Linked DNA regions of Homo sapiens: regions 2, 3, 4 and 5 are each linked to region 1. The links are contacts of gene promoters, found by promoter capture Hi-C in blood cells and fetal thymus (Javierre and others, 2016). All regions are on one chromosome and are shown on one strand. Each heading gives the region's core, a stretch centred on a gene start or on the middle of the fragment in contact. The rest is flanking DNA. Distances are from core to core; before and after follow the strand shown. Region 1 holds the start of AURKAIP1 (aurora kinase A interacting protein 1). Region 2 overlaps MIB2 (MIB E3 ubiquitin protein ligase 2). Region 3 overlaps SSU72 (SSU72 homolog, RNA polymerase II CTD phosphatase). Region 4 holds the start of TNFRSF18 (TNF receptor superfamily member 18). Region 5 holds the start of SDF4 (stromal cell derived factor 4).

What was found. The method cuts DNA at HindIII sites, captures the fragments that hold promoters and counts their contacts. A CHiCAGO score of 5 or more calls a contact.
Region 2: a contact is called between a fragment that was not itself captured here and the fragment with the promoter of AURKAIP1 in region 1, in 4 of 17 cell types (fetal thymus, erythroblasts, endothelial precursors and 1 more). The highest score is 9.5, in fetal thymus.
Region 3: a fragment that was not itself captured here is called in contact with the fragment with the promoter of AURKAIP1 in region 1 in 1 of 17 cell types (M1 macrophages); the score reaches 5.3 in M1 macrophages.
Region 4: the fragment with the promoter of TNFRSF18 here is called in contact with the fragment with the promoter of AURKAIP1 in region 1 in 3 of 17 cell types (activated CD4 T cells, non-activated CD4 T cells and naive CD8 T cells); the score reaches 5.7 in activated CD4 T cells.
Region 5: the fragment with the promoter of SDF4 here is called in contact with the fragment with the promoter of AURKAIP1 in region 1 in 1 of 17 cell types (total B cells); the score reaches 5.0 in total B cells.

What each region holds. Positions count from the first base shown.
Region 1 is chr1:1,372,886-1,377,433 of GRCh38, reverse strand. It overlaps AURKAIP1 (aurora kinase A interacting protein 1), which reads left to right and starts at 2,227. Exons shown (of 4, transcript NM_017900.3): 1 at 2,227-2,280; 2 at 2,644-2,729; 3 at 2,989-3,434; 4 at 3,532-3,698. The coding sequence starts at 2,678. The coding sequence ends at 3,633. RefSeq lists silencers at 2,237-2,416, 2,437-2,486 and an enhancer at 1,536-2,441. The HindIII fragment of the contact is 3,347 bases long and covers 1-2,845 here.
Region 2 is chr1:1,616,697-1,621,244 of GRCh38, reverse strand. The region is part of intron 2 of MIB2 (MIB E3 ubiquitin protein ligase 2); the gene reads right to left. Among named protein-coding and RNA genes, the nearest start is that of MIB2, 3.5 kb to the right of the region's middle. The HindIII fragment of the contact is 1,337 bases long and covers 2,559-3,895 here.
Region 3 is chr1:1,564,813-1,569,360 of GRCh38, reverse strand. SSU72 (SSU72 homolog, RNA polymerase II CTD phosphatase) reads left to right here. Exons shown (of 5, transcript NM_014188.3): 2 at 4,445-4,548. Among named protein-coding and RNA genes, the nearest start is that of SSU72, 7.8 kb to the left of the region's middle. The HindIII fragment of the contact is 5,161 bases long and covers 1-4,495 here.
Region 4 is chr1:1,204,439-1,208,986 of GRCh38, reverse strand. TNFRSF18 (TNF receptor superfamily member 18) reads left to right here and starts at 2,395. Exons shown (of 5, transcript NM_004195.3): 1 at 2,395-2,602; 2 at 3,495-3,617; 3 at 4,501-4,548. The coding sequence starts at 2,416. RefSeq lists silencers at 1-69, 650-739, 3,612-3,812 and an enhancer at 1-815. The HindIII fragment of the contact is 24,444 bases long and covers 1-4,548 here.
Region 5 is chr1:1,228,703-1,233,250 of GRCh38, reverse strand. It overlaps SDF4 (stromal cell derived factor 4), which reads left to right and starts at 1,250. Exons shown (of 7, transcript NM_016176.6): 1 at 1,250-1,359; 2 at 4,305-4,548. The coding sequence starts at 4,479. B3GALT6 (beta-1,3-galactosyltransferase 6) reads right to left here and starts at 1,014. Exons shown (of 1, transcript NM_080605.4): 1 at 1-1,014. The coding sequence starts at 972. RefSeq lists enhancers at 1-614, 615-1,296 and a silencer at 913-1,772. The HindIII fragment of the contact is 46,076 bases long and covers 1-4,548 here.

The sequences.
Region 1 (4,548 bases), core at 978-3,477:
TCGAACTCCTGACTTCAGACAGTATGCCCGCCTCGACCTCTCAGAGTGCTGGGATTACAGGCAGGTGTGAACCACTCTGCCCGACCAAAATTCTGAAGTTTCTAAAGAAAAACTTTCCTGAAGACAAATGGGTATTTTGGGGAAAACAGGTATGTGCAGCAACTGTGTACTTCCCTTGAGAGACTAGAGTTCCTTTGTTTAAAAATTAGGAATCATAACCCATGCACCCTCCCCGATTCTTCCACTGCATTTTTTCTTCCTCAGATGTTTGTAAAGGATTGATCTTCCTAGTCTAGTTCCAGCTCATCTAGCTTGGCAGCTCTGCTCACACAAGCATCTGGCGCTTCCAACAAGTGTTCCTGCCACTCCTGTGGGCGGCAGCCAGTCAGGTCTGGCCCGGGCATTCATCGGGGTGGCCACTGTCTGCAAGCCTCCCGGGCCGGCTCCATGCAGCTCCTGTAGCTGAATGATAATTCCCCAGCCTTGTAGCAGCTGGGTCCTGCTCTAGCTGGGACCTTTCCCTTTTGGCCTGGAGCCTATTGGGTACAGGGACCCCAACAGAGTGGTCTTCCTCACTTCACCTCCCTGAAATTACTTCCTGAGAGGGGGAAGGACACCCTGGTTCATCCTGCTCCTCAAGACTTTCTCAGACTGAAATGTCCACATCCCGTTTCTTCTACCAGTCCCTAACTCAGGGGAGGTACTTATATCTGCACGTCAATGCCTCAGAAGCCTGAAGGCCAAGGTTGCCAGCCCAGGTTATTTCTGGTTCTCTGGTTCTTCTCAACATGCTCACCTGTTCTCTGATGGATTCTTTGCATCTCCCTGGACCCCAGCCGGGTGAAGACAAACACAGGGGCACCAAGGTGAGGGCTGCTCTGGAGGCACCAGTCTGCTCATTTACGGCCAAATCCACTAGGGGAAGCTGTGCAGCAGGGGTGAAGGGCGGGCCCGCAAATAACGTTCGTAAACCTTCCTGCTTGGAGTCCCAAGTAGCCCCTCTGAGGGGTAACGTAGAGTCATCTGGGGACCTCAGTTGTAGAGGTGGGCCTGGAGCCTGAACTTTATGTCCTCACACTGGCCTATCCTACCTGTCACTCACTGCTTAGCCAGGCTGGGCCCGGCAGATGACCTGGCCTTTCCACTTCCTGCTAAGCGTCCCTGGAAGACCCTCCTGCAAGGCAAGTCTCCGAGCAGGCCCAGCAGGCTCTGCTCCACACCCCTCTCCCACCAGGCGCCCCTGCAAGTCCATGCTGGGGTCTCTATATTAGCCAACCTCACGGAGGTCAAAGGGGCCTGTCTGGAGTAGAAAGGTGAAGCTACACGTTGGCAGCGCCTACTCTGGGGAGCATCATTAGGGGCTCAGCCAAACCCAATCCACCAGAGAGGCTGCTTTTAGTTCTCAGACAAAAAGTGTGAGTCTGATTTTTATTTTATTTATTTATTTATTTTTTTGAGACAGGATCTATGTCACCCAGACTGGAGTGCAGTGGTGCGATCTCGGCTCACCGCAACCTCTGCCTCCTGGGCGCAAGCGATTCTCTTGCCTCAGCCTCCCGAGTAGCTGGGATTACAGGCGCCTGCCACCACGCTAGGCTAATTTTTGTAGTTTTAGTAGAGACGGGGTTTCACCATGTTGGCCATGCTGGTCTCGAACTCCTGACCTCAGGTGATCCACCAGCCTCGGCCTCCCAAAGTGCTGGGATTACAGGCCTGAGCCACCGCGCCCAGCCTGCGTCTTATTTTTTTTTTTTTAACCCCAGGAATGAGGAGTCGGGGAGGCCCGGTACCGCAGGCTCAGTGCTTATTCCGGGTCCTTGGTCTCTAGCAAAAACGGGGGAAATAGCTCTAGACGCTTCCGCCTTCCACGTAACTCCACTTCCGTTGCCAGATACGTCACTTCCGTAGTCTTGAGCCCGCACTTCCGTCGGCCCGTTGGGAATCCGGCCCCTGGGTGGTCCGGAAACGATTCTGGACCTGCGGGTATATCCAGGGCCCGCACCCCCTGGGATTGTGGGAAATGTAGTTTTTTGCCTCCGTAAGGGACCAGGCGGAGCTGAGGAACCGCGCGAGGACTGGGACCGTGATTCCACTAACCGGAAACCGTCGCCTTTCGGGCCCGGCGGGGCCTGAGCCAATGCAGAATCGGGGGCCGCGAGGACGCCAGCGGGCGCTGTGCGTAGGAACCGCCGGGTGGCCGCTGCCGATCGGGGCCGACTTGGGGACGGACCGGAAGTGCCCGAGGGCGGCCGCAGAACGGTCAATTTGAGCCGCGTCGAGGTCGGGCTTGGGAAGGGTCAGCGGGAGGCCTGAGGGCGCCGGGCGCTGCGGCAGGCGGGCCCGGGGTCCAGCCGAGAGGGTCCGGGCGCCAGGCAACGCGATTCGCGCGGGGGTGAACCCGGGGAGGGGGCCGGCCTCCCCGTTCTGGGACCTTTCGGTGCGTCCGAGCGCGACACCGCCCGCGTCGGGGGCTTGGGAGCCTCGGGGCGCGAGCTGTGTTGGAAGCAAAGTCCTCCTTGTGGGTTGGGGTGGCGGAGGGAGAAGGGAAGCGAGGGTCGCGGCGGGACCAGACGCCCCAGTCCCGGCCCGCCCGCGACTACTGAAGGCGCTGCCGCCTGACCTGAACGGGCACTTGTGTTCCAGCTCCCCTGGGACCTGTGGCCGCCGCCCACAGACCATGCTCCTGGGGCGCCTGACTTCCCAGCTGTTGAGGGCCGTTCCTTGGGCAGGTAGGAAGCCGCGCGGGGGCGGATGGGAGGATGCACACCTGGTTAGGAGTGCGGGTCTCAGCAGCTCCGCTGGGGCAGGGCCGGTGGCCACACACACACTCTTTCCCCTCTAAGCTTCCGATGCTCACAGAGGGAACCTCAGGGGTTCAGGCCAGGAATGAGGTGCGGGGGATCCTCGCTGGGACGAACCTGCTGCTCCTCAACCCGACGGGCCTGTGTGGTCTCGCGAGCGGTGACCGTGGCGTCTGGTTTTCTGCAGGCGGCCGCCCGCCTTGGCCCGTCTCTGGAGTGCTGGGCAGCCGGGTCTGCGGGCCCCTTTACAGCACATCGCCGGCCGGCCCAGGTAGGGCGGCCTCTCTCCCTCGCAAGGGGGCCCAGCTGGAGCTGGAGGAGATGCTGGTCCCCAGGAAGATGTCCGTCAGCCCCCTGGAGAGCTGGCTCACGGCCCGCTGCTTCCTGCCCAGACTGGATACCGGGACCGCAGGGACTGTGGCTCCACCGCAATCCTACCAGTGTCCGCCCAGCCAGATAGGGGAAGGGGCCGAGCAGGGGGATGAAGGCGTCGCGGATGCGCCTCAAATTCAGTGCAAAAACGTGCTGAAGATCCGCCGGCGGAAGATGAACCACCACAAGTACCGGAAGCTGGTGAAGAAGACGCGGTTCCTGCGGAGGAAGGTCCAGGAGGGACGCCTGAGACGCAAGCAGGTGAGTGGCCCCCTGCTTGGCCCTGGGAGGGCAAAGTGCTGAGAACACGTTTCTTTGCCACGAATTACTTGGCGGTCCCTCTCTCTGCGTCTTGCAGATCAAGTTCGAGAAAGACCTGAGGCGCATCTGGCTGAAGGCGGGGCTAAAGGAAGCCCCCGAAGGCTGGCAGACCCCCAAGATCTACCTGCGGGGCAAATGAGTCTGGCGCCGCCCTTCCCGCCCGTTGCTGCTGTGATCCGTAGTAATAAATTCTCAGAGGACTCAGCCTTTCCTGCGGGTCTGGAGCTCCATTTGCCGGGTGTGAGGTCTCTCAGGATTGAGGCTGCTGCCAGTCCCAGGTGTTGCAGAAGACCCGGGCAGCAGGGTGGCAGATTGGCCGTCCCTCTCTCTAGCTGGCTCTTGGCCGCCGTCCAGAGGGTGCTGGGCCTGTAGGAGCCCCAGCCTCGCTGTGAGCAAATGTGTGCTGTGTGCAGTTCAGGCTAGGTGCTGTGGGATCACTGTGAACAGATCCCACAGCCCCTCCCTGAGCACCACATTCCCTGGGGAGGCCGACCCGGATGGCAGAAGTACAGGGGGACAGGACTGGGGTTTAGGGAGCACCCGGAATGCACGGGGTGATTCAGGTGTATTTCATGAGTGGAGGGTCGGGGAGGGCCTCATTGGGAAGGCAGGAAAGGTTCTGGTACCACTGGCAGTGGTGGATGGTGCCCGCCAGGCTCCGTGGACGTGATCCTCCAGTGGCCCTCCAAGCTTTCCGGCTACAGGGCCAGGGTGTTGGCCTTCCCAGGCATGTCTGCCATCTCCTGGGGCCCTGAGTGGACGTGGGGACTAAGCAGGAAGAGTTGTCCCAGAAGGGGTTCGGGGCTGGGGGGTGGCTGAGGAAAGGGTCTCGTTTACAGGGCCGAAGAATCCCTGAGGCTTAGGTTGAGCCAGAGGCCCCTGGTGTCTCCACGTTCCTCTGGGTGAAGAGGAGGAACGCATTATTCCCCCCCCCTTTTTTTTTGAGGAAGAGTCTCATTCCATCACCCAGGCTGGAGTGCAGTGGTGCGATCTCAGCTCACTGCAGCCTCTCCCTCCCAGGTTCCAGTGACTCTCCTGCCTCAGCCTCCTGAAT
Region 2 (4,548 bases), core at 1,978-4,477, 240 kb before region 1:
CCCAGGGTGACCCACAGGCCCTCCCCATGGGCCCCTGTGGCACTATTCCCCTCGCGGGGCCTCTGAGGGCAGCCCCCAGGTGGTGCACTGCTGCGTCCTGTTTGGCCAGGACCCCACCAGCTTCAGCTTTGACTGAATGGCTGCATGAATGAAACATAAGAACCAGAGAGAATCTGTGCCAGGCTTCTGTGACAGCGGCAGCCCCTGTGTCCCGAGGACCCGCCCAGCACAGGCCGCTTCTAGCCATCCCAGCGCTGACTGCGCCTCACCCAGAGCATGTCCAGGTGGACACAGTTCCACCGGCCAGCCCAGCTCCATGGCCCCACCTGGGTCATGACACTTGACTCTCCAGATCTCTGCAGACCCTCCCATCCCCACTGGGGGCTGTCTTGGAGGGAGGTCACTCCCTCCTGCCCCAGCAGCTCCCCACTGCCTGCTCTGCCACCAGCTGGGGGGCAGGCTCTGCAGGGTTCCTGCTCCCAGGATCCACAAACTGACCTCAGCTTTTGCCCATGGAGCACCCAAGAAGGGTGAGGCATGGCCTGGGCTGAGCTCCCCCACTCCAGCCTCCTCTACACAGGGACCTTCGCCACAGAATGGCACAGGCCGGGGAGGCCGACGCAGCAGTCTGCTGGCGGGGGGACAAGTGAGAGGGGCACTGCTCCTTAGGGTTGCAGACCCCACCCCCTGCCAGGCCGTCCACCTCCACCAGATCCACACGCAACCTCCTCCTTGCCAGGATCCCACCAGAATCGGCCACAGCTGGAATCACACTAAGCCGGGGACTCCTCCCTGCCAAACACCTCCACTTAGCCAGAGCAGGGCTCATCACAGGCAGCCGCAGAACCGACTGGAGGTCTTTGCTAGTAGGGGACACGCATCTGCCGACCCCCGAGATGGGCCCGGCAATGGAGATGAAGGACTTGGGACCGCAAAAAAGCCAATGCCATGAGCCCACACTGTGATCCTTCTGCAGCAGGGGGCGCCTTCTGTCTCTGCGCCCAGACTCTCAGCCACAGCCAGCTTAGCCCAGGCCAGCGGCCACACCTGCCCGACCCGCTGGCCATATGCCATTGGACCTTTCCAAAAAGACAGGGGCAGGGTGCCCCATGTGTGAGCCAATGTGTCCTGTGCTTTGGCAAATCTTGCCCTTGGGGGGATGGGCAGAGGGCAGAGATGTCGGGGAGGTCACCAGCAGGGCCTCTGGGAATCAAGACCAAGCCTTGGCGGCCCCCGCGTCACAGGGGCAGTGGGGTGGAGTGCCAAGGCCATCAGCCTGAGACAGGGTAGCCTGTGCCCCAGACTGGCACCTGTCTGCAGCATGCCCGGTATTTTTAGCACAGCCAGGCAGCTCTCCAGCCCTGGCCCACAAACCCCCACCCTCCCAGAGGCTGTCCCTCATGGAAGCCCACCTGAGTTGGGGCACAACTGGGCTGAACACAGGCAGGGCTTCCTCCCTGGCCTCACTTCTTGTGCCTGGAACCAGCCCCCCACTTGCTGAGGGCTGCCCCAACAAGGGGGACGAGCCTGGACAGGGGAGCTGGGTGCGCCCACCCACTCCCACCTCTCCCCGGGGGCTGGGATGTGAGCACACAGGGGCCTGTAGACCCGGCGCCTCCTCAAGGCCTCCCCTGCAGGGCCCCCACCCCAAGGGTCTGGGGTCTGTCCCACTTCCAAGGCAGTCCCTTCTGTCCAGCATGGCACTGCCCTGGAGTGGCCGCCTCATCTGAGCGGGGTCTCCAGCCATGCCTGCCCGCCTGCCAACCCTTCTGCGGTGCCAGTGTGCAGACAGACCACATGCGCGTGGATCCCAGGCTCAGGAGCTCAGTATCCTGGACCCTCTGGAGGGGCCAGCAGTTTTGGTTTTTTTGAGACGTAATCTCGCTCTGTCGCCCAGGCTGGAGCGCAGTGGCGCAATCTCAGCTCACTGCAAGCTCCGCCTCCCAAGTTCACGCCATTCTCCTACCTCAGCCTCCCGAGTAGCTGGGACTACAGGCGTCTGCCACCACACCTGGCTCATTTTTTCTATTTTTTAGTAGAGACGGGGGTTTCACCGTGTTAGCCAGGATGGTCTCGATCTCCTGACCTCGTGATCCGCCCGCCTCGGCCTCCCAAAGTGCTGGGATTCCAGGTGTGAGCCACTGTGCCCGGCCGCCAGCAGCTTTTGAGGCTCTGCCGCCTTTCTCCTCAGCTCCTTCCTGCAGCTGCCTGCCTGGCTTTCTCACCATTGCCCCAGGGCCAGCAGTCACCCAAGACCTGCCACTGGGCTCCTGGCACCCTGGCCCCAGGGCTCAGTACCTGCCTCCGAAGGCCTCTCTAGGGGGTGTTTGTGGTGGGGGCAGGAGGCAGTAATGAGACCCCCACAGGCAGGGAGGAGGGGCACCCCGCCAGGACCCAGCACTTGTATCCCTTGGTCTCTTCTCAAAGGGGACAGAGTGCACCTGCTTAGGGGCGGGAGGATCCAGCCCAGCATCGAGGGGCCTGCCCCATTCCCATTGTTCATGAGAGGTGGGGGCTGTGGGGTCGCACAAGCAGCCTGCCCATGTCAGAGGGAAGCTTGTGGACAAAAGGGCTCATCCCTTGGGCTTCCCTGACCATCCTGTCCTCCTGGGGCCATGGGACAGGTTCTGGGCTGGGTCTGGGTCAAGCTGACCCCGAGGGTACTGGCCACAGGACCCATCCCCTGGGCAGGCCTGGGAGCAGGTGATGTGGGGCTGGCGCTTGGCACACCCGCTGCAGACCTCAGGTGAGGACTTCCTGGAGGCAGGTGAGGAACACCAGATTAGGGGTAGGAGTGGGGTGGGCAGCCTGGAAATCAAGCCCTCTAGGACAGATGTTCCCCCAAGGGCCCCTCACTCCCTCTGCCTCCACCCTGGACCTGTCCAGCATCCATTCCTTCCTGGAGAGCAGGAGGCCTCTGGGTTGCCCCCTCCTATTTTTCTGTTCTACACCCACAAGGCTCCAGGTGCAGAGGAGGGGACCCGTGGGACCTGATCACCCTGATCACCTGCCCACAGCGGGTGAGCTCTGGGCCAGAGGCTGCTATGGGAAGTGCAGATGTCCAAGGCTAGCCCTGCCCTCACACCAACCTGGCCAAGGTTTCCCAGAAAGACAAACCAGAGACAGCCACAGCCACAGCCCAGCACTGGTGGAGGGGCTCCAGGGAGCAGACCAGCAGACCAGAGCTGTGGCCACGCAGCCCCTGGTGTACATCGTGGCGTACATGGCTGTGGCCACTCCTGCTCCTCCTCTTGGAAACATACAGCCCAGGCTTCCGCTTCAGGATGCTGCCCCACAATGGGTATCTTCATCTCAGTCAGAAATTTACTCAGAGAGTTACCAAATGTTTTTTCCTTTGCCAGAAATGCTAGACTTTGCCATCTACCCACAGTTCACAGGCTGTGCCCCTGGCTGGCATCTGAACCCCGCTGCAGGCAACTGCTCCCGATGTTTAAAATGATGGAGGCAGTCAGGGTGTGAAGACTCGGGCGACAGATCGACAGATGTGCTTTGGCAAATCGGAACTTACCTCAGAGCACACACCAGCCTCGAGGCAGCGTCCCAGGCATTTAATTGCTACTTCCTGGGTCACAGATTCGCTCGGCTACCAGGCTTTCCTGTTGGAAGCTAAAGCCACTGGAGACACAACACAGCAAACCAGACGGGCAGCCAGCAAGCCAGGCTGGAGAAAATGGTTTCTAAAGGCAGTGTCACACATTTAGCATTTACCGTCTTAACCACGCAAGCAGACACCGGGTCTGTTCTATTGCTGCTTAGTTTCTCTTTTTCACAAGAAACTGCAAGCTCTCAGAGGGCAGGAGGACTTCCGAACCATCAGTCAGGAGAGTGTAGGAGGAGAGAGTTCCCTTATTGCAAGTATTTTATCGGAGAAGCTTTAAAAGCCATAGAAACCAAATCCTATTTAGCGAGAAAGTTAGCAAATTGCCTTTATTCAGAAGAAGCAAGTTACATGGAACTGGACATGAGGCTGCCCTCCTCCTTGCACCTCCAGCTGTGCCTAATGACACCGAAATGCCGCTGTGTGTGGCACGCCACAGGCCATGGAGTAGCTCCAGCTAACGCAGATGGACATCCCAGGTGCCCCAGGGAGATCAGGCCCACGGAGTGGGATGAAGCCCTGAGGCGGGGAGGCCAGCATGGAGACACCTGCTGAGGGAAAGCCCACGAGCGCTGCGGCCACCTCCAATCCTGCCCATCTGGGTGGAGACCTACAGGCACCCTGCAGGCTGGGGTGTCATCCCACTCACCGCCCAGGGCTGCCCTCGGCCAGGAGAGCGCCACATTCAGACACTTGTTGCATGTGAGGCAACAGGCCAGGGTGGAACCGGACAAAGGGGGCCTCCCGGGAAGGGCCAGGCTTGCCGGCGCTCCTGCGCTGCGGCCGCTCTGCCCCAATCCTGCAGGTGCCTATCAGAGGCCTGTCTGGCACCTCTGCTTTCTTCCTCCATGGGTTCCGAACTCAGAGAGGAGACGCGGGATTACTCACCACTCCCCTCCACTCGCATGCATGCTCAGACACAAACACAG
Region 3 (4,548 bases), core at 666-3,165, 190 kb before region 1:
CAGAGTCCTGGGAGTCCTCATGTTTCAGGGCAGCGCCAGAAGACTCCGCCGTACGTTTCCACAGAGCCTCCTGCGCTTGGTGCTCCAAGGATTAAAGTGTCCCCTTGGAACCAGTTAGGTTTTTTGTTTGTTTGTTTTGTGGCTTTTTGTTTTTGTTTTTTTGTTTTTTTCTTTTATTTTATTTTTTGAGACGGAGTCTCATTCTGTCGCCCAGGCTGGAGTGCAGTGGCAAGATCTCGGCTCACTGCAGCCTCTGCCTCCCGAGTTCAAGCGATTCTCCTGCCTCAGCCTCCTGCGTAGCTGGGACTACAGACATGCACCACCATGTCCAGCTAATTTTTTTGTATTTTTAGTAGAGACGGGGTTTCACCATGTTGGCCAGGCTGGTCTCAACCTCCTGACCTCAGGTGATCTGCCTGCCTTGGCTTCCCAAAGTGCTGGGATTACAGGCGTGAGCCACCGTGCCTGGCCTTATTTATTTATTTATTTTTACAGACAGGGTCTTACTGTGTTGCCCAGGCTGGTATTGAACTCCTGGCCTCCCAAGTAGCTGGGATTACAGGCATGAGCCACCACGCCTGGCTAGTTTTGTATTTTTAGTAGAGACGGGGTTTCTCCATGTTGGTCAGGCTAGTCTCAAACTCCCGACCTCAAGTGATCCGTCCTCCTCCGCCTCCCAAAGTGTTGGGATTACAGGCGTGAGCCACCATGCCCCGCCTGATGGCTTCTTTATGATAGTTTTTTGGAGTTTTTTTGAGACAGAGTCTCACTTTGTCACCCAGGCGGGAGTGCAGTGGCACCATCACGGGGCCCACTGCGACCTCCACCTCCCGGGTTCAAGCGATTCTCCAGCCTCAGCCTCCGGAGTAACTGGGATTACAGGCGCGCACCACCACGCCTGGCTTTTTTTATTTTTTTATTTTTTTTTTAAAGTAGAGACGGGGTTTTGTCATGTTGGCCAGGCTGGTCTCAAACTCCTGAGCTGAAGTGATCCACCTGCTTGGTCTCCCAAAGTGCTGGGATTACAAGCCCTCTGATAGATTTTTGGTACTTGTAAAGACAGTTGTTTGGCATACCAGACAAATACTTGTCTGGAAGATTAGTTTACAAAGGCGTTGGCCCTTCAGGCGAAGCCTGTTGGTGTCAGGAGTGTTTTCCAAGCTGTCCTTGCTTTTATGTAAGAAACGCTGTTGAGTCGCAAGCTGGCTGCCCTGTCGGTTGCATCAGTTTGGGAGAAATACTGCTTCTGTTGCTAAATAGCCTTTTTGCCATTCGTGAACCTTTTGTTGGGGGAAAAACAAACTGCATTTTGTTTTTAAATAGGCTAACTTAAAGGAACGTCCAGCAGGTGGTGAGTTCTTGTTGGTGTTGGGAGGCAGGCTGTCTCCTTTGGCTGCTGTGATCACGCTGATCCTGGGCTTCTTTGTGCGATTTTTTTTTTTTTTTTTGAAACAGAGTATCGCTCTGTTTCCCAGGCTGGAGTGCAATGGCGCGATCTCGGCTCACTGCAACCTCCGCTTCCGGGGTTCACGCAATTCTCCTGCCTCAGCCTCCCGAATAGCTGGGATTACAGGCGTGTGCCACCATGACTAATTTTTGTATTTTTAGTAGAGATAGGGTTTCACCATGTTGGCCAGGCTGTTGTCGAACTCCTGACCTCAAGTGAGCCACCGCGTCCGGCCCTTGTTTGTGCTTTGACGGAACATATTTTATTGTATGTTGTCTGAATTGGTAAGGAAGTCATTTTAGGCTTGTTGTTTCTCACGTGTGCTCCCTGTGGTATGCCTTGTGTCTGGGCCTCCGTCACCCTCTCAGTCACAACCAACAGTTGACTTTATTGCTTTAACCTCATGTTTCCGTCAGGATCTGTGGTTATGACTGAATGTCAGGAATTTTAATTTTAGCATTTTCACGTTTATTTCACAGTCCGGGTGCCGTGAACACGGGTTTGTAGTCATGAATCGCTGCTATTGTGCCACATTTCTGGCCGTGTGTGGTAGATGTTTGGAGAGCCGGGTTGTGTAGCTCGGAATATCTAGGGATGTAAGGACTGACGCAGCTGTCATCAGCCTCAGGGGACTCAGGTGTTTCACGTACACTAGATGAGCACATCTTCTCTGTGTGTGTGGGTGACGTGTGTGGTGGCGCAGCAGGGTGCCCTTGGGCTCTTTTGCTTCCTCTACTCATCTTCGGAGGTGCGCGTGGAGCCGCATGGCCTGTCCTGCCCCATGGATGGATTATTCTACTTGTCTGTTCTTTTGTGGCTGTGGAAGGCCGGCAGTGGGCATCCTGCAGGCAGCCATGTTGCAGAGGCACGTGTATGTCCGTAGGGCGGGTTTCTAGAAGCCAGTGTCTGTGAGAAAGGCACAGGTAGTTTTCACTTGCTGGGTGTTGCCCCATTATCCGCATAGAGACTGGTTACACTCCAGCAGCCCCCTCTGCCTGAGTTTTTCCTCTCTTGTGACACTGTTACTCATTCAACATTCAGTAATTTTTTTTTTTTTTTGAGACAGGGTCTCGCTCTTGTCGCCCAGGCTGGAGTGCAGTGGCGCGATCTCAGCTCACTGCAACCTCTGCCTCCCGGATTCAAGTCATTCTCCTGCCTCAGCCTCCCGAGTAGCTGGGACTATAAAAGCGCCCGCCGCCTCGCCCGCCTAATTTTTTGTATTTTTAGTAGAGATGGGGTTTCACCATGTTAGCCAGGCTGGTCTTGATCTCCTGACCTCATGATCTGCCCACCTCGGCCTCCCAAATTGCTGGAACTACAGGCGTGAGCCACCGCACCCGGCCTTACTTTTCTTTTTTTAAAATAATATGGAACTCCTCACGTGTCTGTGTGTCATTCTTGCTCAAGAGCGAAGCAGCAGCACTTTTCTGAACAAGAATGACAGGCCTGTAAGAGGAGTTTAGTGTTAATGGAAGTGTATGTGCGCCCTGCGCCCTGAGCCAGGCAGATTCCTTCAGATGCAAACCTTTTGTGATTTATAAATAAAGCTAGGTTGAGAAGTCTATATTTTTTAGGTAATTATAAGTATCAGTTGTGACTTTACAAGAACACATGTTCTATACCAAAGTAACTTTTTTTGTTGTTTTTTTGGGACAGAGTCTCGCTCTTTTGCCCAGGCTGGAGTGCAGTGGTGAGATCTCCAATGTCTGCAACTTGTGCCTGCTGGGTTCAAGCGATTCTCATGCTTCAGCCTCCCAAGTAGCTGGGATTACAGGCACGCACCACCATGCCCAGCTAATTTTTTTTTTTTTTTTAGTAGAAACGGAGCTGGGGTTTCGCCTCCTGGCCAGGCTAGTCTGAAACTCCCAGCCTCAGGTGATCCATTTGTCTCGGCCTCCCAAAGTGCCTGGATTGAAGGTGTGAGCCACCGCACTCGGTGCCAAAGTAACTTTTTTACATGTAACTTGTTGTGACAAACTTAAGTGTGCTTGTCAGCGATGACAGAAGAATTTTCTGGTCTTACCACACTCCATCAGTGTTTGGAGACGACCTCTCTTTCTCCTTGCGTGAACTAGAGCTCATTGGTGGCACATGACACACGTTTCCTGTTCAGCTCTTTTCTCCAGTTGATTAGGAAAAGTATTTGGTCAGTTTCCTCACCTGTGACTAGGAAGTCCAAGGAACAAGCACCGTCGGACCCATCGCGGCATCTGTTCTCTGCCTGCAGCAACCCTGAGCCTGTGGGACTCCTTTGGGTGTTGGGTCTCGGTTCCCATGGAGCCACATCGTGGGGGTGTTGGGAAACTGGGGGAGACAGAGTTTCCTGTGGTGGAGCGGGCAGTTGGACCTTTGTGAGTCCCTTAGGAATCCTGTGAACTTGGATCCTCCAAAGCCAGGACGTTGGTCGATGGCCAAAATGTTCTGATGAAATCTTCCCCAAGTCCACATCAGTCAGTCCTTTCAGTTTAAAGTAAAGCCTTAAACAAGCTATGATGTTCAGATGTGGCTTTGTGATGGTCAGTTCTGGTTTGATTGCTTTTGTGTAACTTGCTACAGCCTGTCGCCCAGGCTGGAGTGCAGTGGTGCTATCTCTGCTCACTGCAAGCTCCGCCTCCCGGGTTCACGCCATTCTCCTGCCTCAGCCTCCCGAGTAGCTGGGACTACAGGTGCCCGCCACCGCGCCCGGCTAATTTTTTGTATTTTTAGTAGAGACGGGTTTTCACCGTGTTAGCCAGGATGGTCTTGATCTCCTGCCTTCATGATCCGCCTGCCTTCATGATCCGCCTGCCTTCATGATCCGCCTGCCTTGGCCTCCCAAAGTGCTGGGATTACAGGCGCGAGCCACCATGCCCGGCCTAGATTAAAAATTTGAAGACATATTCTCTACTATGAGCCAATGAAATTACTCATTTTGTTTCTATCCCATTTGCTGTCCCTTGCTTTTGGAATTTTGTGTCTTAGTGTGACTGTGATTCTTTCTCTCCTTTTGTCTTTCAGCAAACGGGGATTCAGCGTCCGATCCTTTGGAACAGGGACTCACGTGAAGCTTCCAGGACCAGCTCCCGACAAGCCCAATGTTTATGATTTCAAAACCACATATG
Region 4 (4,548 bases), core at 1,146-3,645, 170 kb after region 1:
CCTGCAGGCCCTGCACAGGGTTGGGGCCGCGCCTCTGAGAGCCCCCCGCCCCCCGCCCCGTGGGGCAGGCGAGGCCAGACCTCCAGGCAGGATGGCGGGTGGGTGGGGGAAGGGGTCAGGTGGCCGGGACTGGAGCGGCCAGATCCTGTGGGGCCCGCAGGTCGACGGCTATGGGAAAGGGGCCTCCTCCCCAAACCTGGCGCCCATACCCATCGCTTCCTGTCTCCTCCCCTCTGGGCACAGCACCCCCCAGGCCCCGTGGGACTTATTCCCCAGCAGGACCCCTTGCCGCACCCCCAGATGGACACGGGGCCACCTCCTCTTGGTCTCCATGCTCACCCTCCCCGCCCCCTCGCCTGACGCCATCTCTGCTGGCAACTCCTGTGCCATCTGTGCCGAAGGCCCTGCCTGAACTCTGGCTCAGTGCCCATCTGCACCCTCCCCGTGGGGCCTCACAGCTGCCCTTCTGGACGTACGCAAGGGCTGTCCCTCGCCCGGCCCGTGGGCTGCTCTGCTGTGTGAATGCCCCGTCATTTGTGTCACCGGTGAGCTGCTCAATAAGATGAACAAGTCACCTCCAGCCTCGCAGCCCAAGGATAGGAGTCACGGGGAGCCGGGGAGGGGCCTTCTGCGGCGAGAGGGATGGGAGGGTGGACGTCACACCCCTGCAGCCCCTCCGGGGACCACCCTGTGTGGCAAGCTGCTCTCCGGCTGTTCAAAGTGTCAGCTGCGCCACGGGGCGGGGGGGAGGGGCTCCTCTGCCCGCTGGCCGCCTCCCACTTGGCCCCATAAACTGCTCGCTCCTCTAACTCTGTCCCTGCCTCTAGATGGATGACTCACACCGTGTGGTCTGATGAGCATTCTTTATTTTTTGTGATGGAGTCTCGCTCTGTCACCCAGGCTGGAGTGCAATGGTGCCATCTTGGTTCGCCGCAACCTCTGCCTCCCAGGTTCAAGCAATTCTCCTGCCTCAGCCTCCCGAGTAGCTGGGATTACAGGCGTGCGCCACCACGCCTGGCTAATTTTTTTTGTATTTTTAGTAGAGACGGGCTTTCTCCATGTGGGTCAGGCTGGTCTCGAACCCCTGACCTCAGGTGATCCGAGGCCCACCTCGGCCTCCCAAAATGCTGGGATTACGGGCGTGAGCCACTGATGGCGCCTCTTTCTATCCAGGGGCCCAGACCCCCTCCCAGCCTCGGGGCTGAAGATCTCCAGGCCTCTCAAAGGCCCCCAGGCCCAGCTGGCCCCACCCCTTTCCTTCCGAGCGTCGGGGCGGCCTGGAGCTGCAGAGACCCCTTCCTTCTCTGCAGTGTCTGAGGGCTGCCTCTCCAAGGCAGGCTCCTACATCTTGGATTTGAGAACTCCGGGGTGTCACAAACAGCTAATTCCTGTCATTTACCTTGGAAAAGGAGGAACCGCCTTACGGGGTGAGGCGGTGGCTGCAGGTCTCAAAAGGGTGTTGAACCACATCCACGCTCACGTTCCCGAGAGCCCCCACCCCCAGCATTCATGGGGGTCTCCACCTGTGCTGGACGGCGCAGAAGCAGGGCTGGGCAATCCAGGGAGGCTTCCTGGTGGAGGCAGGGTCCCAGAACCCCTCGGTGCCCACAGGGGAAACTGAGGCTCAGAAAGACATAGGACAGTCTCCCAAGAGCTCTGCGAGGGGCTCCTCCTCAACTCCCTCCGGGACCTGGATCTGTCTGGTGTGACGGATGAAGGTGGCTCTGAGAGACCGGGCCCTGGGTGCCCGCGGGGGCGGCTGACACTGTCCCGAGGAGGCGCCAGCACCCTCTCGTCTCCCCACCAGCTCCTCCTGGTGCCCCTCCCAAGCCCCGGGGAACTTCCCAGGTTGGCCTGAGGGGGGTCCTGGAGAGCTGCAAGCAAGGGGGAGGGGAGCCCACAGGCCTGCAGCCCATGGTGAGTTTCACACCTGAAGCCAGCCAGGTGGGGTGTGCTGAGCCGAGGGGTCCCTGTCCCCATTCTGTGGGGTTCCCCAGCACGGGGCTCCATGGTTGAGGCTCTCTGGGGGTGGCCAGAATTTGTGGAGACCTCTCGGGGACTCGCAGATACCACCCGGAGGCAGTGGGATGGAGGAGTGATTGGCTGACCCCCGCCCTCCAAGGGGCCCCCATGGGACAAGGTGCTATAAACGCCGCCCCCTGCACTGGGGACACCAATGTGGCCGCAGACTTTGCATAGAAAACCTTTCTGATCCCCGCCAGCCTGGTTTCCCCGCCCCTGCCGGCGACCTGCGGGGGACCGGGCTGTGTCCGCAGTGTCTACACCCCCTCCTCACACGCACTTCACCTGGGTCGGGATTCTCAGGTCATGAACGGTCCCAGCCACCTCCGGGCAGGGCGGGTGAGGACGGGGACGGGGCGTGTCCAACTGGCTGTGGGCTCTTGAAACCCGAGCATGGCACAGCACGGGGCGATGGGCGCGTTTCGGGCCCTGTGCGGCCTGGCGCTGCTGTGCGCGCTCAGCCTGGGTCAGCGCCCCACCGGGGGTCCCGGGTGCGGCCCTGGGCGCCTCCTGCTTGGGACGGGAACGGACGCGCGCTGCTGCCGGGTTCACACGACGCGCTGCTGCCGCGATTACCCGGGTAAGTAAACCGCGTTTACTTAACGCGGACCGGCCAAGGCGTCCCGCGGAAGCCGGGATGGGTGGGCGCCCCCCTTCCCGTGCTCAGACCGGCGTTGCTGAGGTCTAAGGAGGGTGGGCACAGAGCCGCCAGCAGCGGGAGCCTTCCGGAGGGAGGCAGGATCCCAGAGGGAGGCGGAGGTGTGCCAGCTCCAGCCAGTGGCCCCGGCCGGGAGCAGGGGTGAGCCAGGTGGGAGCGCCCTCAAGAGGGGTCTGGGGTCTGGAGGTGGAGGACGGCTGTTCCAGGTCCTGCTGGGCGGGTCGTGAGCCCTTGGCCATCGCCCAGCCCCCTCCTGCCCAGTTGAGGGCCCCCCTGCACCACCGTCTGGCCTGCTGCCTGCCTCTGACCTGCACCTGGGGATGAGGGTTCAGCTGACACGGCTGGTCTGGAGAGGAAGCTGGCAGGGAAGTCACCCCAGAGCTTCTTCCTCCAGGGCCTGTGGGTTGGGAAGGGAGGCTCTGTCCGGAGGCCCAGTGTGGCTGGTGGTGGGGACAGCAGCGCCCAGACACCAGGCAGGCGGCCTCTGAGGTGTCGACGGGCCTCCAGGGGACTGTGCACTGTTGGGGGCCACCCCTGGGTCCTGCAGGGGCAGCTCCTGGTTGCATATGGAGTTAGCACCTGGGCAGGGGCAGCTGTGGGGCGCAAAGGGGGAGTAGCCAGGCCACATGGCCCCAGGAGAAAGAGACAGCTGGATAAACCCAGGGTCCAGACTCCCAGCCAGGAGCCCTCTGCTCCCTGGAGCCAACTGTGGGTGGAGAACGGACAACCTCACTCCCCTGGAGGGCCGAGGGGAGGCCTGGGGAGGAGGGGGCCTCAGCCCAGCTGCTGGGGGGCTGGCCTGTCTCCTGCCCAGGCGAGGAGTGCTGTTCCGAGTGGGACTGCATGTGTGTCCAGCCTGAATTCCACTGCGGAGACCCTTGCTGCACGACCTGCCGGCACCACCCTTGTCCCCCAGGCCAGGGGGTACAGTCCCAGGGTAAGTCCTGGAGGTGCCTCTGGGAGTCCACACAGGCCAGGGGTTCCACTAGGGCCCGAGGCAGAGCTCGTGGGCACAGGTGTCCGGCGAGGACATGTGGTGTGTGGGGTCCGGAGTCCTGTGAGGCCGGGCAGGCCAGGCCATGCTCAGGCACCACAGGCCATGAAGCTCTGGGGGTGTCCTGTCCCTGCTTTCTCAGCCTGGGCTTCTCCATCCAGCACGAGGGCTGTGAGAACCCTGCGGGGAGGTGGGGGCGGGTTCCAGGAGCTGTCTGGCTCTCAGGCCCGGGACACCCATCCTGTCTGTCCTCACCACATACTGAAAGAGCCTGCCCTGTGCCCCCCGGAGTCCTGTCTGGGGCCTGGGGCTGCACCCTGTTCTGGAAGGAGCAGCTCAAGTCCTCTTAGCGGCTTGTTTACCTGACAGGAGAGGTCAGGCTGGGCACATGAGAGCTGGGAGAAGGTACAACTGGGGAGGTTGTGTCAGGTTGGACGGGGCAGGGTCTGGGGTCAACTGGGACCCAGCCTCACTCTCTCTGGGACCCTCACTGTTCTCCACCCTCTGTTCTACTGGGTCCTGCCTGGCTTCTGCCCACCCTCAGCCCCCAATGGGCAGGCCTTTCCCCTCCCTGGCAGGCCCACTGCACTCTGCGCACCTCCCCCAGGTGCCCTCACTGGGCCCCACCCCAGACGCCCCACCTGGGACGGGCAGACATGGGCCCCAGTCCTGGGCCATGAAGAACTCTGTTGAATGGATGATGGGGGGGGCATTCTACTCAGCACCCAGACCCCAGATGGACCCCTGCACTGGCCTGACGCCCTCCTCATCCATCCCAGCAACTCCACCAGCCTCCCTCCCTCCCTCCCCCCACACCCCACACCAGGGAAATTCAGTTTTGGCTTCCAGTGTATCGACTGTGCCTCGGGGACCT
Region 5 (4,548 bases), core at 1-2,500, 140 kb after region 1:
TCTCTGGCAGCACTGCGAGGGCGGCGCGGACCAGTCGTACACGTAGGACAGGCGCAGCTGCACCTCGCGCTTGCACAGGCGGCCCTCGCGCGCCAGCGTCGCGTGCTTCTCCAGCATGTCCTCCAGGCTCTGCTTGTGCGTCACCAGGTACTGGTTGCTGCAGCCGCGGGACCGGTATTCGGTGTCGAAGCGCGGGTCGTGCTCCCGCTGGACGTCCACCGGCGCCAGCCAGGCGCCCAGAGACACGTCCTCGCTGTGCCAGGCGCGCAGGTAGTCGCGGCTGAGGCGCAGGTAGTGCACCAGGTCGGCCGAGAGCACGTAGCCGCCGCCCAGCGCGTAGGGCAGGTAGTAGTCGCAGAGTTGCCAGGCGGCCTCGCGCCAGCGCCCCCCCGGCTTGACGCGGCCGCGGCCCGAGAAGAAGCCCCAGTAGAGGCGGCGGCGGCGCGCGGGCTCGCGGGCGCGCAGCTCGGCCAGCAGCGCGTCCAGCCGCGCGAAGGAGTCGTCGTCCGCCTTGAGCACGAACTCGAAGGCCACGTGCTCGTCCAGCCAGGCCAGCATGGCCAGCACCTTGGCCGTGAGGTTTTCGTAGGCGTCGCGCAGCGCGGGCAGCAGCAGCAGGTCCCCGTGCCGCGCCTGCTCCCGCTCCAGGGCGCGCCGCTCCTCGGCGCCCAGGCCGGCCGTGCCCACGGCAAAGCGCGCCCACACGTCGCCCGGGGCCCCGCGCCGCGCAAGCCACGTGCTGCGGATCACGCTGCGGCGCTCGGCGGCGCGGGGCGCGCTGGCCACCAGCACTGCCAGGAAGGCGGCGGCGCGCGCGGGCGCGGGGGGAGGCGGGCTGCGGCCCGACATCGCCCTGGGGTCCCCGGGCTCGGCCGCGCAGCGCGCCAGGTAGAGCAGCGCCGCCCCGCACAGCGCCAGCGTGCCCAGGCCTAGCGCCGCCCGCCGCCGCCACGCCCGCCGCAGCAGCTTCATGGCGCCCGCGCCGGGCCGGCGGCCCAGGCCGGACTCGCGAGTGCGCAGGCGCCGCCGGCTCGGGGCGGTGCGCGTGCGCACGGCGCTCCTGGGAGCGCGCCGGGGCCTTCCGCAGACGCCGAGCCCCGGGGCGCTCGGAGGCCGGCGGCCAATCGGCGGCCGTCACGTGGCCTCGGGCACCCTTGTCATTGGTCAACCTCGGAGCGGCCCCGCGACCGCTTCCGCCCGGAGGAGAGATGGTGGCGCCGGCGTCCCCTCCGTGAGGTCGCGCCCGTTCGCACCGCCCCCGCCCGCAAGAAAGATGGCAGTGGCCTGATCCGGGCCCGTTGGCGGCGTCACTGACGCTTCGCTCCGGTCCTCGGATCCCGAGCGCGGGGAGGCAGACCGGTGAGTGAGGGGCCCGGGACGGCCGCTGCAGGCCGCGGGGCCAAGTGTACGCCGGCCGGACGGCGAGGGCGGGTCTGGAGGCCGCCGCCGCCTCCCGCCTTGGGCTGGGGCATCGTCCGTCCGCTCGGCCTTGAGCCCTGGCGAGACTCCGCCGCCACCGGGGCTCCCGGGGTTCCCGGGGGCAGGGACAGGCCGACGACGCTGGCCTCCCCGGCCGCCGGCACGTCTGGTCTCCTACTGGCCAAAACCTACGAATGCCACCGGGAAACGGAGGCCCAAGGGGTCTGGTTGGACTCGCGTTTATCGGCGAGGCGACCTTGGACAAGCTGCCCCGCTTCCCTGCGCCTGCGCTTCCGCTTCTGAACCGCGTGGACCCTCATCCCCAGTTAGTAGGATTTGGAGATGTGAAGTCGGCTGTGTGGAGCCCTTGATGTCTGGCTCAGAGGCGGTGTTATGAACCCTGTTGAGCTTTTAGAATCTAACCGTGTGTGTTGTTAACTGCCAGAAATAGCCTCGTTCCACCAGAGCTGAAGCCCAGGGATGGCAAAGAAATAGCGTCTCTGCCTAAGCTGTTTCCCACGTCCGTTTTGCAAGGGTGTGTTGATTCCTTGCTGGGAACTGAGCTGCTAGGGGATGGCGAAGTCGAAACCCCATTCCGGTGGGACCGGCCCGCTCCGCTGTGCTGCGAACCTGGCACACCGTGATGAATAGATACTCTGAAGCCAGGAGAGGAAGCGCCACTTGATGGACTCCTGATATTTATAGTTACTTTTGGGTTACTTTTTATTCCCCCTTTTTCGAGACAGGGTCTTATCTTTTTGTTTTTGTTTTTTAAAGAGACGCAGTCTCACTGTGTTGCCCAGGCTGGTCTCACGATCCTCCTGCCTCAAGTAAACCGTGTAACTCATCAAGATATGTAGAATCAAGAACTAGCTTTATTTTCTCTAGGAACAAAGTACAGTCTCTTTGCACACAGCGTGTGTTTTACGACTGTAGTTAGTGGAGTCAGCACCAGGAGGAGGTGTCTTGGTTCTTATCCAGGACTCTCCCCTGGTCAGGCGATCTGGGACGACAGGAATAGAATTATGCCACCACTAGGGAAGGGAAAAGCCCTCAGCCATGTTCAGAAAATCAGGCCGGGTGCATGGCTCACGCCTATAGTCCCAGCACTTTGGGAGGCCGAGGCAGGAGGATCACTTCAGGTCAGGAGTTAGAGACCAGCCTGGCCAACATGGCAAAACCCCATCTCTACTAAAAATACAGATTAGTGGAGAGTGGAGGTGGGTGCCTGTAATCCCAGCTAACTGGGAGGCCGAGGCAGGAGAATCACTTGAACCTGGGAGGTGGAGGTTGCAGTGAGCCGAGACTGCACCACTGCACTCCAGCCTGGGCGACAGAGTGAGACTCTGTCTCAGAAAAAAAAAAAAAATCAGACATGAGCCCCTCACCCAGGGTTTCCTTCCTTGGGGGAACTCAGGCTTGTACCCCTCTTGGTTTGTGGCAGACTGCACTGACTTCAGGACCACTTTCATGGCGGCCCCACTGGTGTTTCTCGATACCTGGAGGCAGCATTTTTTCGTTTAATATTACCCAGGGTAGCATTCGTTGAGCGCCTACTGTGTGCAGGCAGAGTGGCAGGTGCCAGAACAGTGAAGCTGAATAAGACGGCCACAGAACAGGAGTCTCAGTCCATGTGTGTTGAGGGAACAGCTGTGACATGGCGGGGCCTCAGCGGCACCCGAAAGGACCCGCAGGTGTTTGCCGGAGGGGCAGACTGTGAAAGGAGTAGGCTCGTGGGTGAGAAGGACCCCGAGTTCCCTTTGGGATACATGAGGCATGAGGCCCTGTGAGCCCCTGCTTCCCACCAGGACTGGCCACGCCTCGGACGGCAGGACAGACTTCTGGGCTCCTCGGCCTTGGCGTTCGCTCGCGAGTGTGGGCAAGGGCACATGTGTGTAATACGTGCATGCGTGAGTGTGGATGTGTGTGTGCACATCTGTGTGTGGGGGTTGTGTGTTTGTTTGCTGGGACCAGGCCCTGACGCCCTCTGCACTTAGGGTTGGCTGTCTTCGCAAAGCCTGGTCAGTCGGGGGGAGAGGGGGAGCCTCCTGTTTCTTAGTGAGAAGCTGAGGCCGGGGAGGCCACATGACTTAGCTAAGGTCATAGATCTCAAGAATGTTCAAGTCAGGGTCTGGAGAGTGACCCTAACCCCATGGGTCAGTGGCATGATGCCAGGAGGGACAGAGCCGGGCCCCACAGGAAAGCTGTGCTGCAGGTGTTGGGCGATGGGGACAGGTTAGCCCCTGGAGGTGCTGACAGCTCGAGAGAGAGATGGAAAGACGGAGAGACAGGGCTGAAAACTCAGTGTCTGTAAAAAAAAGACCGGGCACAGTGGCTCACGCCTGTAATCCCAGCACGTTGGGAGACTGAGGCAAGAGGATCGCTTGAAGCCAGGAGTTTGAGACCAGCCTGAGCAATACAGCGAGACCCGTCTCTACAAAGAGTAAAATAAAAATAAATTACTGGGCGTGGGGGTGCACGCCTGTGGTCGCAGCTGCTCCGGTGGCTGAGGCGAGAGCATCACCTGAGCCCAGAGCATCACCTGAGCCCAGGAGTTCGTGGTCACGGTGAGCTGTGGTCACCGCTGTACTCCAGCCTGGGTGACAGAGCAAGACCCTGTTTCTAAAAATAAAGAAAAAAACACCACGTGTGGTCCGGAGAAAACAAATGCCACGTGTGGTCCAGAGAAAACAAATGCCACGTGTGGCCCGGAGAAAACAATGCCACGTGTGGTCTGGAGAAGGCAGTGCCACGTGTGGTCTGGAGAAGGCGATGCCACATGTCTGGATCCTGTGAATCGAGGATATGTTTCATGTTGCAGGATAGACGTGCTTGGGGAAGTCTTTGCTGAGTCTTGCTAATGATGTGTCTGTGTCTCTCTGCAGACTGTGAGCTGCTTGTCCCCATCCTGCGGCCGTCCTGGGGACACAGAGCCCTCCGTGGTGCCCGGGGATTGGATTGGAGCCAGGACCTCACTTCCTCCTCTGCCCCTGCCCCTGCCCCTCCCAGCACCTGGCCCACACCCTGCAGCCCGCCCCATGGTCTGGCCCTGGGTGGCGATGGCGTCCAGGTGGGGTCCCCTCATTGGCCTGGCTCCGTGCTGCCTCTGGCTCCTGGGGGCAGTCCTTC